3 separate regions of the Homo sapiens genome follow, and regions 2 and 3 are each linked to region 1. Evidence: promoter capture Hi-C in 16 types of primary human blood cells and fetal thymus (Javierre and others, 2016). All regions are on one chromosome and are shown on one strand. The core of a region is centred on a gene start or on the middle of the fragment in contact, and the rest is flanking DNA. Distances in the headings are between cores, read along the strand shown. Region 1 holds the start of CALHM2 (calcium homeostasis modulator family member 2). Region 2 overlaps CYP17A1 (cytochrome P450 family 17 subfamily A member 1). Region 3 overlaps AS3MT (arsenite methyltransferase).

Evidence for each region. Contacts are between HindIII fragments. The CHiCAGO score rates a contact against its expected background, and 5 or more counts as called.
Region 2: a contact is called between a fragment that was not itself captured here and the fragment with the promoter of CALHM2 in region 1, in 1 of 17 cell types (endothelial precursors). The highest score is 5.5, in endothelial precursors.
Region 3: a fragment that was not itself captured here is called in contact with the fragment with the promoter of CALHM2 in region 1 in 1 of 17 cell types (neutrophils); the score reaches 5.9 in neutrophils.

Annotation. Positions count from the first base shown.
Region 1 is chr10:103,451,120-103,454,101 of GRCh38, reverse strand. It overlaps CALHM2 (calcium homeostasis modulator family member 2), which reads left to right and starts at 1,732. Exons shown (of 4, transcript NM_015916.5): 1 at 1,732-1,946; 2 at 2,817-2,982. It overlaps CALHM1 (calcium homeostasis modulator 1), which reads left to right. Exons shown (of 2, transcript NM_001001412.4): 2 at 1-862. LOC124902494 (a long non-coding RNA gene) reads right to left here and starts at 1,659. Exons shown (of 2, transcript XR_007062275.1): 1 at 866-1,659. RefSeq lists a silencer at 1,331-1,660 and enhancers at 1,499-2,120, 2,121-2,741, 2,690-2,982. The HindIII fragment of the contact is 3,298 bases long and covers 427-2,982 here.
Region 2 is chr10:102,829,247-102,832,228 of GRCh38, reverse strand. It overlaps CYP17A1 (cytochrome P450 family 17 subfamily A member 1), which reads left to right. Exons shown (of 8, transcript NM_000102.4): 7 at 618-721; 8 at 1,244-1,698. The coding sequence ends at 1,527. Among named protein-coding and RNA genes, the nearest start is that of CYP17A1-AS1, 1.9 kb to the left of the region's middle. The HindIII fragment of the contact is 1,013 bases long and covers 810-1,822 here.
Region 3 is chr10:102,873,399-102,876,380 of GRCh38, reverse strand. AS3MT (arsenite methyltransferase) reads right to left here. Exons shown (of 11, transcript NM_020682.4): 6 at 1,720-1,789. BORCS7-ASMT (BORCS7-ASMT readthrough (NMD candidate)) reads right to left here. Exons shown (of 15, transcript NR_037644.1): 10 at 1,720-1,789. Among named protein-coding and RNA genes, the nearest start is that of AS3MT, 5.4 kb to the right of the region's middle. The HindIII fragment of the contact is 685 bases long and covers 1,258-1,942 here.

The DNA of each region.
Region 1 (2,982 bases), core at 483-2,982:
TCCTCCCCTGGGCAGGGATGAGACAGCAACACAAACACTCGAGCTTCCATCTTGTTGAGGAGGAAACAGAGGTACAGATAGGTTTCTCAGCACCGCCCTCAGCTCTGAGACATAAGTCCCAAGCATCTAAGGATTCATTTTGATCTTGGCATGATTCCATCCTTTTTTATCCATCCTTCCCTCTATTCCCACTTCTGGGGTCCAGTTTCCCTCCTCTTAATTATTTGGGAGGAGTTGCTCAGATCTTTGTGGGCCAAGGTGGGCTGGGAGGGCTCTTCCAGGAGGTAGGAGTTGGTATGGGCCCTGAAGTCAGGGAGGATTAGGATGAGCAAAAAACAAGGTGTATGTTGGTGGGTGGCAGCACTTCCAGTGGGAAGAGAAGGCCCGGAGGTATCAGGAGGTACAAATGTGATGAAGAGCAAAGCTTTGGGTCAGGCACACCTGAGTTCAAATACCAGCACTGCAGGACTTGTGGCCAGTCACCCAGCCACTCTAAGCCTCAGTGTGTCTGTCTATAAAATGGATATTAGAAGACCTGCTTGGCCAGGCGGAGTGGCTCATGCCTGTAATCCCAGCACTTGGGAGGCCAAGGAGGGAGGATCACTTGAGCCTGGGAGTTGGAGACCAGCCTGGGCAACATAGCAAGACTCTGTCTCTGTAAAGTAATAATAATAATAAGAAGAAGAAGAAGAATAAAGAGAAGATTTATAATTTTTTTAAAATGAAAAAATTATTTTTTAAAAAAGACCTGATTTTCAGGATTGTGGTAAGGATAGAGGAAGATAACTTTTAGGGAAGGATCTGGGACTGTGTTTAGCACATGCTGGGATCTGAAACAAACAAATAAACAAGCAGAACTTGGTACCTTTTCTTTCCTTCGTACATATGGTCAAGCCCAGCTCAGGGAGGCCAGCGGGTCACTCGGCAGCTCCACCATGACGGAACCACGAGCACTGCAGAGCTGACAGATGTCGGGGGTCCTCTCCCTCCATGCTAAGGGTCATCTAGCCTGTCCGTAGACTCTCCTGTGCAGCATTCCTGACCCGTGACGCTTCAGCCCGCATCTTGACCACTTTTAGATACAGGCTGGGCAGCTCTGATTATTACACAGGGCTTCCTTCAGAAACCTGCCTCCTTGTAACTTTCACCCACCAGTTGGAGCTCTGCCTGCAGGACCCGGAGAATCCCTAGGCTCCTGAATTCAATCCTCAGCCCTCCAGGGATCCGAAGCAGGTCCCGGGGAGTTAGCTGACTATAGGTCAAAGAGTCAGCATTGGGGATGGTTTGTCCAGTCAATGGACAACTCTGAGGGAGAAGGGCCAGTAGAGGGTGGGGCCCTGGCCCTGAGCATCCTGCAGGGCTCAGCGCGGGCCTGACGACACCCTCCCTTGACCCTCGCGGGGTCTCCTTTGGTAGCTTCTGCCCAGCGGGGGTCAAGTACGTGGGGTGCTCTTGAAACTGTCATGGGGGGCAGGTCTGGGTCAGATCTCCCCAATGCCTCCACATCCCCACGTGGCCCTCCCGACTGGTCCCATTGGTGTGGAGCATGGCCCGGTCCGGGTCTGGGCCGAGGGCGGAGGGCCAGCACGGCCCAGGGACGGCGAGCAGCGGGTCGGTGGGACGCGCAGCAGCTGCAGAACAGGCATCTCAACTTCCTCTCGGCTCCTCTCCTCTCGCGCCGCCCTCGGGGCCCGCCCTCCTCTGCCTGGTGGCGCCGGGAGGCTGTTTTTCCACTCACTGGCGCGCAGACTCCATCCCACTGTTTTCTTCTCTCTTTTCTGGAGTTAGATTAGTCTGAAGCCGCCACCAGCCCCAGGCCCCCGTGCAGAAGAAAAGCGGGAGGGAACGGCGGAGGCCGCCGCTGCCCTGCACCGCCCTCCTGGAGGCCACTTGGAGAGTCCGGCCCCGAGGAGGCCATGGCCACAAGTGCCCACAGCTGGCCCCAGGTAAGGAAGGGGCCCTCCCTGGGGTGTGCCAGGTGTCAGCGGAGCATGGTGGGGCCTGTCCCACGCTGCCCAGAGGGAGAGAGGCCCCTAGCTGAGGTTCCCTCCACCCGGTTGAACAGGGAGCAGTCCTGCCCCTCCCCGAGCCGCCAGTCTCCTGTCGTCACTGATGTTGGAGGAGGTCCCACTGGGGGTCTGGATGTGACCCATCCTTGGCCTGGGGGCAGTGGTCTCAGAAGATGGCCTGGCCCATCCTCTGCTCACCACCCACCCTGTGCAGGTATCTTGTACCCCACTTTGAGCCAGTTTATGAACCCAGGGCCTCCACAGGGAGCTAATTAGGAGCCTAGAAGCCAAGAAGGGAAAAGGATGGGGCAAAGGGGGCTGACTTTAACCCATTCTTCCCCAGCAGTGATGCAAACTGCCTTTCCCAGGAAGTTAGGCTGGAAGCTCCAGGCTGTGAAGTGGGGGAAGAATCAGACTCCTCCTCCTCCTCCTCCTCCTCCTCCTCCTCCTGTTGTTCCTCCTGGTCCTCCTCCTCCAGCTTCTCCTTTTCTTGGAGTCTGCATGGCCACATGGCTCTGCCTGAGCCCATCTGGCAGCCTTCCTTGGCAGGGACAGAAGGGGTGATCTAGAAGGGGTGATCCCTCCATGAAGCATGGAAGGGAACAGGGCTAGGTCTGTGTTTGGCGCTCACCCCATCCCTCCACTCCCTGGCTTCCTCTGGCCTGGGGAGTTTTGTTTTTCACCCTCCAGAGGGGGAGGACATGGGGCCACACCCTGGCCTGTCTCTCAGGCTTGTGTGGGTGGAGGCTGGGAAGGGAGTTGGGCTAAACTTCGCTGTTGCCCGAGGCCATGGCCACTTCCCGGCAGGTTGCCAGCGTCGCTACAGCCCAGACCAAGGCAGAATAATCTCCGGATGAGCTGGTGGCACCGCTGAGCCTTTGGTCTCACCAGGGCTTCCTGTTGCTGGCAGGCGGGGTGGAGCGGAGCTGCTGGGAGGCTGCTGGATAGGAGAGGGGTCACGGCTGCGGAAGAG
Region 2 (2,982 bases), core at 67-2,566, 620 kb after region 1:
CGTGGCGCGTGCCTGTAGTCCCAGCTACTCAGGAGGCTGAGGCAGGAGAATCACTTGAACCAAGGCGGCGGAGGTTGCAGTGAGCCAAGATTGCACCACTGCACTCCAGCCTGGGTGACAGAGCGGGACTCTGTCTCAAAATAAATAATTAATTAATTAAATATAAAAATCATCCTGCCCCCAGCCCCGTGGCTCCATGTCTCTACCACCTACAGACACGCATTGACTCATCCACAGATCTGCCTGACTTCCCAGAGGAGCTTCCTGCTGCCCTCAGAGACATGTGGTCTGGGATGAAAGGCTGGGAGCTCCATGTTCCAACCAGCTGCAGCACGCACATAACATGCGCTGCAGCTCCAAACGCACACCCACATACACTGCCAGACACCAAAGTCCACAGACACAGGTGTTCAGACAGAAGCGCCTGTTAGGAGGGAAGGGATGGAGAAGGGCTGGATTTAGGTTTGATCTGGCAGAAGCTGAGGAAAACATGAGTGAGTGGGAATGAGGGAGTAAAGGGCATTTTCCTCACGGCGGAAGAATGAGGGGGCATGAGGCTGAGCAAGGAAGGGAGTACGAAGTCCCAGACCCACTTTTCCTCTTCCACTCTGGAGCAGCATCGGTGAGTTTGCTGTGGACAAGGGCACAGAAGTTATCATCAATCTGTGGGCGCTGCATCACAATGAGAAGGAGTGGCACCAGCCGGATCAGTTCATGCCTGGTGAGTCTGTCCTGTCCTGCGCCCTGGGCCACACAGCGAGCCTGGACTCTGCTCCACCACCCCAGTACCCCTTCACCTCTGCCAAGCTTGCTGCTAGAAAACTCTTGGCTCCAACTATACGGACCTGTTGACACCCTCATCCTGCCATAGACTTACCCAAACTCTTCACAGCTGGGTTTCCCACGCTCTTCTTCCAACCAACTGCAAATTCACCCTCCAAGAAGCCCTCTACGCCTCTGTCTGCCATTAAGTCTGTCCCTTCTCCCCTCGGATGGTGCTATTTTCATAGGTTAATTCCATCTCTTTTCCATCCTTCCTGAATATTTCATTTCCTCTGTGTCGTTAAGGGCTACCTGAAAGCAGGGCTGTATCTCTCCCCAGGCGGGGGTTCCCCCATAATAAGGCTACATCCTCAGATCAGGGTTCCCTGGGCAGGGCCATGTCTCCCCCTCAACCAGGGCAGAACCATGCCTCTCCTCCCTCCTGCCCTAACCCCTGGCTGATGCCACTCCTTGCCTGCAGAGCGTTTCTTGAATCCAGCGGGGACCCAGCTCATCTCACCGTCAGTAAGCTATTTGCCCTTCGGAGCAGGACCTCGCTCCTGTATAGGTGAGATCCTGGCCCGCCAGGAGCTCTTCCTCATCATGGCCTGGCTGCTGCAGAGGTTCGACCTGGAGGTGCCAGATGATGGGCAGCTGCCCTCCCTGGAAGGCATCCCCAAGGTGGTCTTTCTGATCGACTCTTTCAAAGTGAAGATCAAGGTGCGCCAGGCCTGGAGGGAAGCCCAGGCTGAGGGTAGCACCTAAAGGCTGTAACTCACAGCCCCTGTCCACCCTATGTGGCCCCACAACACAGATTTAGAGATACAACCCCCCACCCTTCTCCGCCATTCTTCCCTACTCCCAACCCACTCTGCCTTCTTTTTCAGCTTGTGGCAATGCCAGTGATGTGCATAAACAGTTTTTTTTTTTCCATAAGGTCCCTGAGTAGTTCATTTATGTATTCATTTGCTCACTCATTCTTTCAACACCGATTTTATTGAGCACCTACTATGTGCCATTCACTTTCTCAGGACACTCGAGCTCCGTGGTCTCTGAAGCTTACATTCTAGTGAGGGCTAACAAGTGAATAAGTTCAGAGACTCGTAAGTGCTTTGAAGTCAATCACAATTTGTGTGATGTGATGAGAAAATGGCAGAGGCAGTGGGTGGCTGCTTTGAACAAGGGGTCAGGAAAAGTGTTGCATGCTGAGAAGCAGGTAAAAAGGCCTCCAGGTGGGAGAGGTCAGCATGGCCAGTGAAGGGGAGAGTGGGCCCTGATGAGGTCAGAGTGGACATAGTGGTCCGTTCCCACTGTAGCTGGGATTACAGGAGGCCAGGAGGGAGGTTGGGTTTTATTCTAATTATGACAGGAAGTCACTGGAGGATTTTAAGTATGTAAGTGGAACAATCTGTTTTTTTGTTTTTGTTTTTGTTTGAGAAGGAGTTTCGCTCTTGTTGCCCTGGCTGGAGTGCAATGGCATGATCTTGGCTCACTGCAACCCCTGCCTCCTGAGTTCAAGTGATTCTCCTGCCTCAGCCTCCAAAATAGCTGGGATTGCAGGCGTGTGCCACCATGCCCAGCTAATTTTGTATTTTTAGTAGAGATGAGGTTTTGCCATGTTGGTCAGGCTGGTCTCGAACTCCTGACCTCAGGTGATCCACCCATCTCGGCCTCCCAAAGTGCTGGGATTATAGACATGAGCCACAGCGCCTAGCCTGTTTTTTGTTTTGTTTTGTTTGGGTTTTTTTGTTGTTGTTTTTTGTTCTGTTTTTTGAGTGACATGGTCTCACTCTGTTGCCAGGCTGATTGCAGTGGCACAATCATGGCTCACTGCAGCCTCAACCTCCCAGGCTCAAGTGATCCTCCCACCTCAGCATCCCAAGTAACTAGGACTACAGGCACACATCACCAGGCCTGACTAATGTTTTACTTTTTGTAGAGATGGGGTTTTGCTGTGTTTTCTAGGCTGGTCTCAAACTCCTAAGCTCAAGCGCTTCTCCCACCTCAGCCTCCCAAAGTGTTTGGATTATAGGCATGAGCCGCTGTGCCCAGCTGGTTTGTATTTCTGAAAGATCGCCGTAGTTGCTGTGTGGAGAATGTTCTGCTAAGGGATGGGAGTGGGAGCAGGAGAACAGTTAGGAAGGAGGCTGTTGTGCTGGTCCAGGAAAGCCAGATGTTGATGAGTTAAACCACGGCCACAGCAGTGGAAACAGTGAGAAG
Region 3 (2,982 bases), core at 351-2,850, 580 kb after region 1:
GGAGTTAGAGGGTACAGTGAGTGTCACTATCTGGACCCCTCTAACTCAGGAGTTAGAGGGGTACAGATAGTGACACTGCATTCCAGCCTGGGTGACAGCAAGACCCCATTTCTATTAAAAAATATAACTTTTTGTAATGTTGTTATTTACTTTTATAACAACACATTTTATCTTTAAAATATTATCCTTAAAATGTAAGGCAAATGAGTGATCAGGAACTTAACATTTTATTTAGCTAATTTCAAAAACCTGGAAACCTGGAGATCTAGATTCTATAATAGTGTTTCTACCTTTTATAAGTACATTTTTGGTGGAGATAGTGAACTGGCGTGTAAAATGACATACTAACAAAGACATCACTAAATCATTAAATCATTTCTATATAGATATTTGTATTTGAGTTCTATGACAGCTTTGTAAACCAAAAATCTCAAAAATCTGTTGTCAATTTAAAAAAAAATTTTGGCCAGGCACAGCGGCTCATGCCTGTAATCCCAGCACTTTGGGAGGCTGAGGCAGATCATGAGATCAGGAGTTCAAGATCAGCCTGACCAATATGGTGAAATCTTGTCTCTACTAAAAGTACAAAAATTAGCTGGGCATGGTGGCACACGCCTGTAGTCCCAGCTACTAGGGAGGCTGAGGCAAAAGAATTGTTTGAACCCAGGAGGCGGAGGTTGCAGTGAGATGAAATCCTGCCACTGCACTACAGCCTGGACAGCAGAGTGAGACTCCATCTCAAAAAAAAAAACATTTTTTTAGAGGCAGTGATCACACTATATTGCCCAAGCTGCACACAAACTCCAGAGCTCAAGCAATCCTCTTGCCTCAGCATCCAAGTAGCTGGGAGTACAGGCATGTACCACCCACCCAGCTAGAATCTTTTTTTTTTTTTTTTTTTTTTGAGATGGAGTCTCGCTCTGTCTCCCAGGCTGGAGTGCAGTGGCACGATCCTGGCTCACTGCAACCTCTGACTTCTGGGTTCAAGCTATTCTCCTACCTCAGCCTCCCGAGGAGCTGGGATTACAGGCACGCACCACCACACCCAGCTAATTTTTGTATTTTTAGTAGAGACAGAGTTTCTCCATGTTGGCCAAGCTGGTCTCAAACTCCTGACCTCAGGTGATCTGCCCGCCTCGGCCTCCCACAGCACTGGGATTACAGGTGTGAGCTACCGCACCTGGCTGAATATTTCATCTACTATCATGAAGATACACATCTCATGATACAATGAAGGCTGTGGAGCTCCTGCAAGCTTTCCTTTTAGCAAGTAGTTAATGTAAAAGTTCCATCTTCTGTAACTTCCCAAAGATCTGAAATCATGACAGATAAGAAATCAGAAGCCCTGAGAAACACTGTACATGCTAGAAGAGAGTATATTCAAAGCAATCATTAGTAGTCAGTGCAAAGATTCCTATAGCTCCACAGATGCTCTTCTAGGATCATGTACAGCAGCAAATAGGAGAGACAGTCAAGAAAGCAAATACCTTAACACATTCAGTGACAACTGTCACCTCGGATTTACTACCTTTTGCAACCTAAGAGGGAAAGTAATCCATATCCGGGGTATTCCTGCCCCTTCCCCCTTTTGCCACCCCTTATTCATTTAATGGATAAATTAAGAGAGTTTGAGCTCTTAGTTCAAGGGGGAACAAACAAGACTTAACCCATCAGCTCTTACTGATGTTCAAAGATAATTTATCTCACTCTCCTCCTCACCTTCAGCACCCGATATGCCTCCTGAAGCACTTGTTGTTTATCAGGCACAAGGTTAATAACACAGTTTGATCTAAAAGAGAACAGATGAAATGTCGAGCAAATCTTCACAACACTCAGAGATCTGCAAATCCTTTCAGACCCTAAAGGTGGTTCCCACCGTTCTGTCAAAGCTACCCCATTCTTACCGCCTCCCTCCTCTCTTTCTAATGCCTTCAACTAAGCTTTTCCCCAAGATCAGAGACAGAGTGCTTAAAATCTCAATAAATTGTTAGCAAGTTTGAATGTGCAGAAAATAACATCAGGCATGATTCTTACTTGTTTCTGTCCTGATGTTCACCATGTAACAAGATGAAACCTCAGACCAGATGCCTACTGCACAAGGCATTTCTTTCTTTTTTTTTTTTTCCCGAGAGGATGTTTCACTCCTGTTGCCCAGGCTGGAGTACAATGGCGCAATCTCGGCTCATTGCAACCTCCGCCTCCCGGGTTCAAGTGATTCTCCTGCCTCAGCCTCCTAAATAGCTGGGATTACAGGCATGTGCCACCACACCCAGCTAATTTTTGTATTTTTAGTAGAGACGGGGTTTCGCCATGTTGTTCAAGCTGGTCTGGAATTCCTGACCTCGTGATCCACCTGCCTCGGCCTCCCAAAATGCTGGGATTATAGGCGTGAGCCACCGCACCTGGCCGGCACAAGGCATTTCTTATGCTTCACGTAAACAGGCTATGTTCCTCAAAGGCAGCTGTCACTTGGGCATGATTTGACAATAACAACTTGAGGGAAAAAAGGAAATAGAATCCTATAATTTACCATGAAAATATTATGAAAGATACAGGTCAGCATGTATTGTAGGAGCAAACTTAGTGGTCCTGCTGGTCTTTTGGGTTCATTGGTTTGTGGTTAAGTTTCAAGTAAGTTCCCTCTTGGTCTGGTGTGTTCTGCTGCTGGTGAGCTCCAGCAGCTCAAACCAGCTCTCTCCCATTAGTAAGCCATGCTAAGTTTAGTTTAACACCCTAAATGAGAGTCAATTCAGCAAACAGTAATAGTGACATCTCTGTGTTCAAAAGGAAATGAGGGCTGAGCACAGTGCCTCACACCTGTAATCCCAGCACTTTGGGAGGTGGAAGCGGGTGGATCACCTGAGATCAGGAGTTTGAGACCAGCCTGGCCAACATGGTGAAACCCTGTCTCTACTAAAAGAAGATTTAAAAAATTAGCTGGATGTGGTAGCGTGTGCCTATAATCCCAGCTACTTGAGAGGC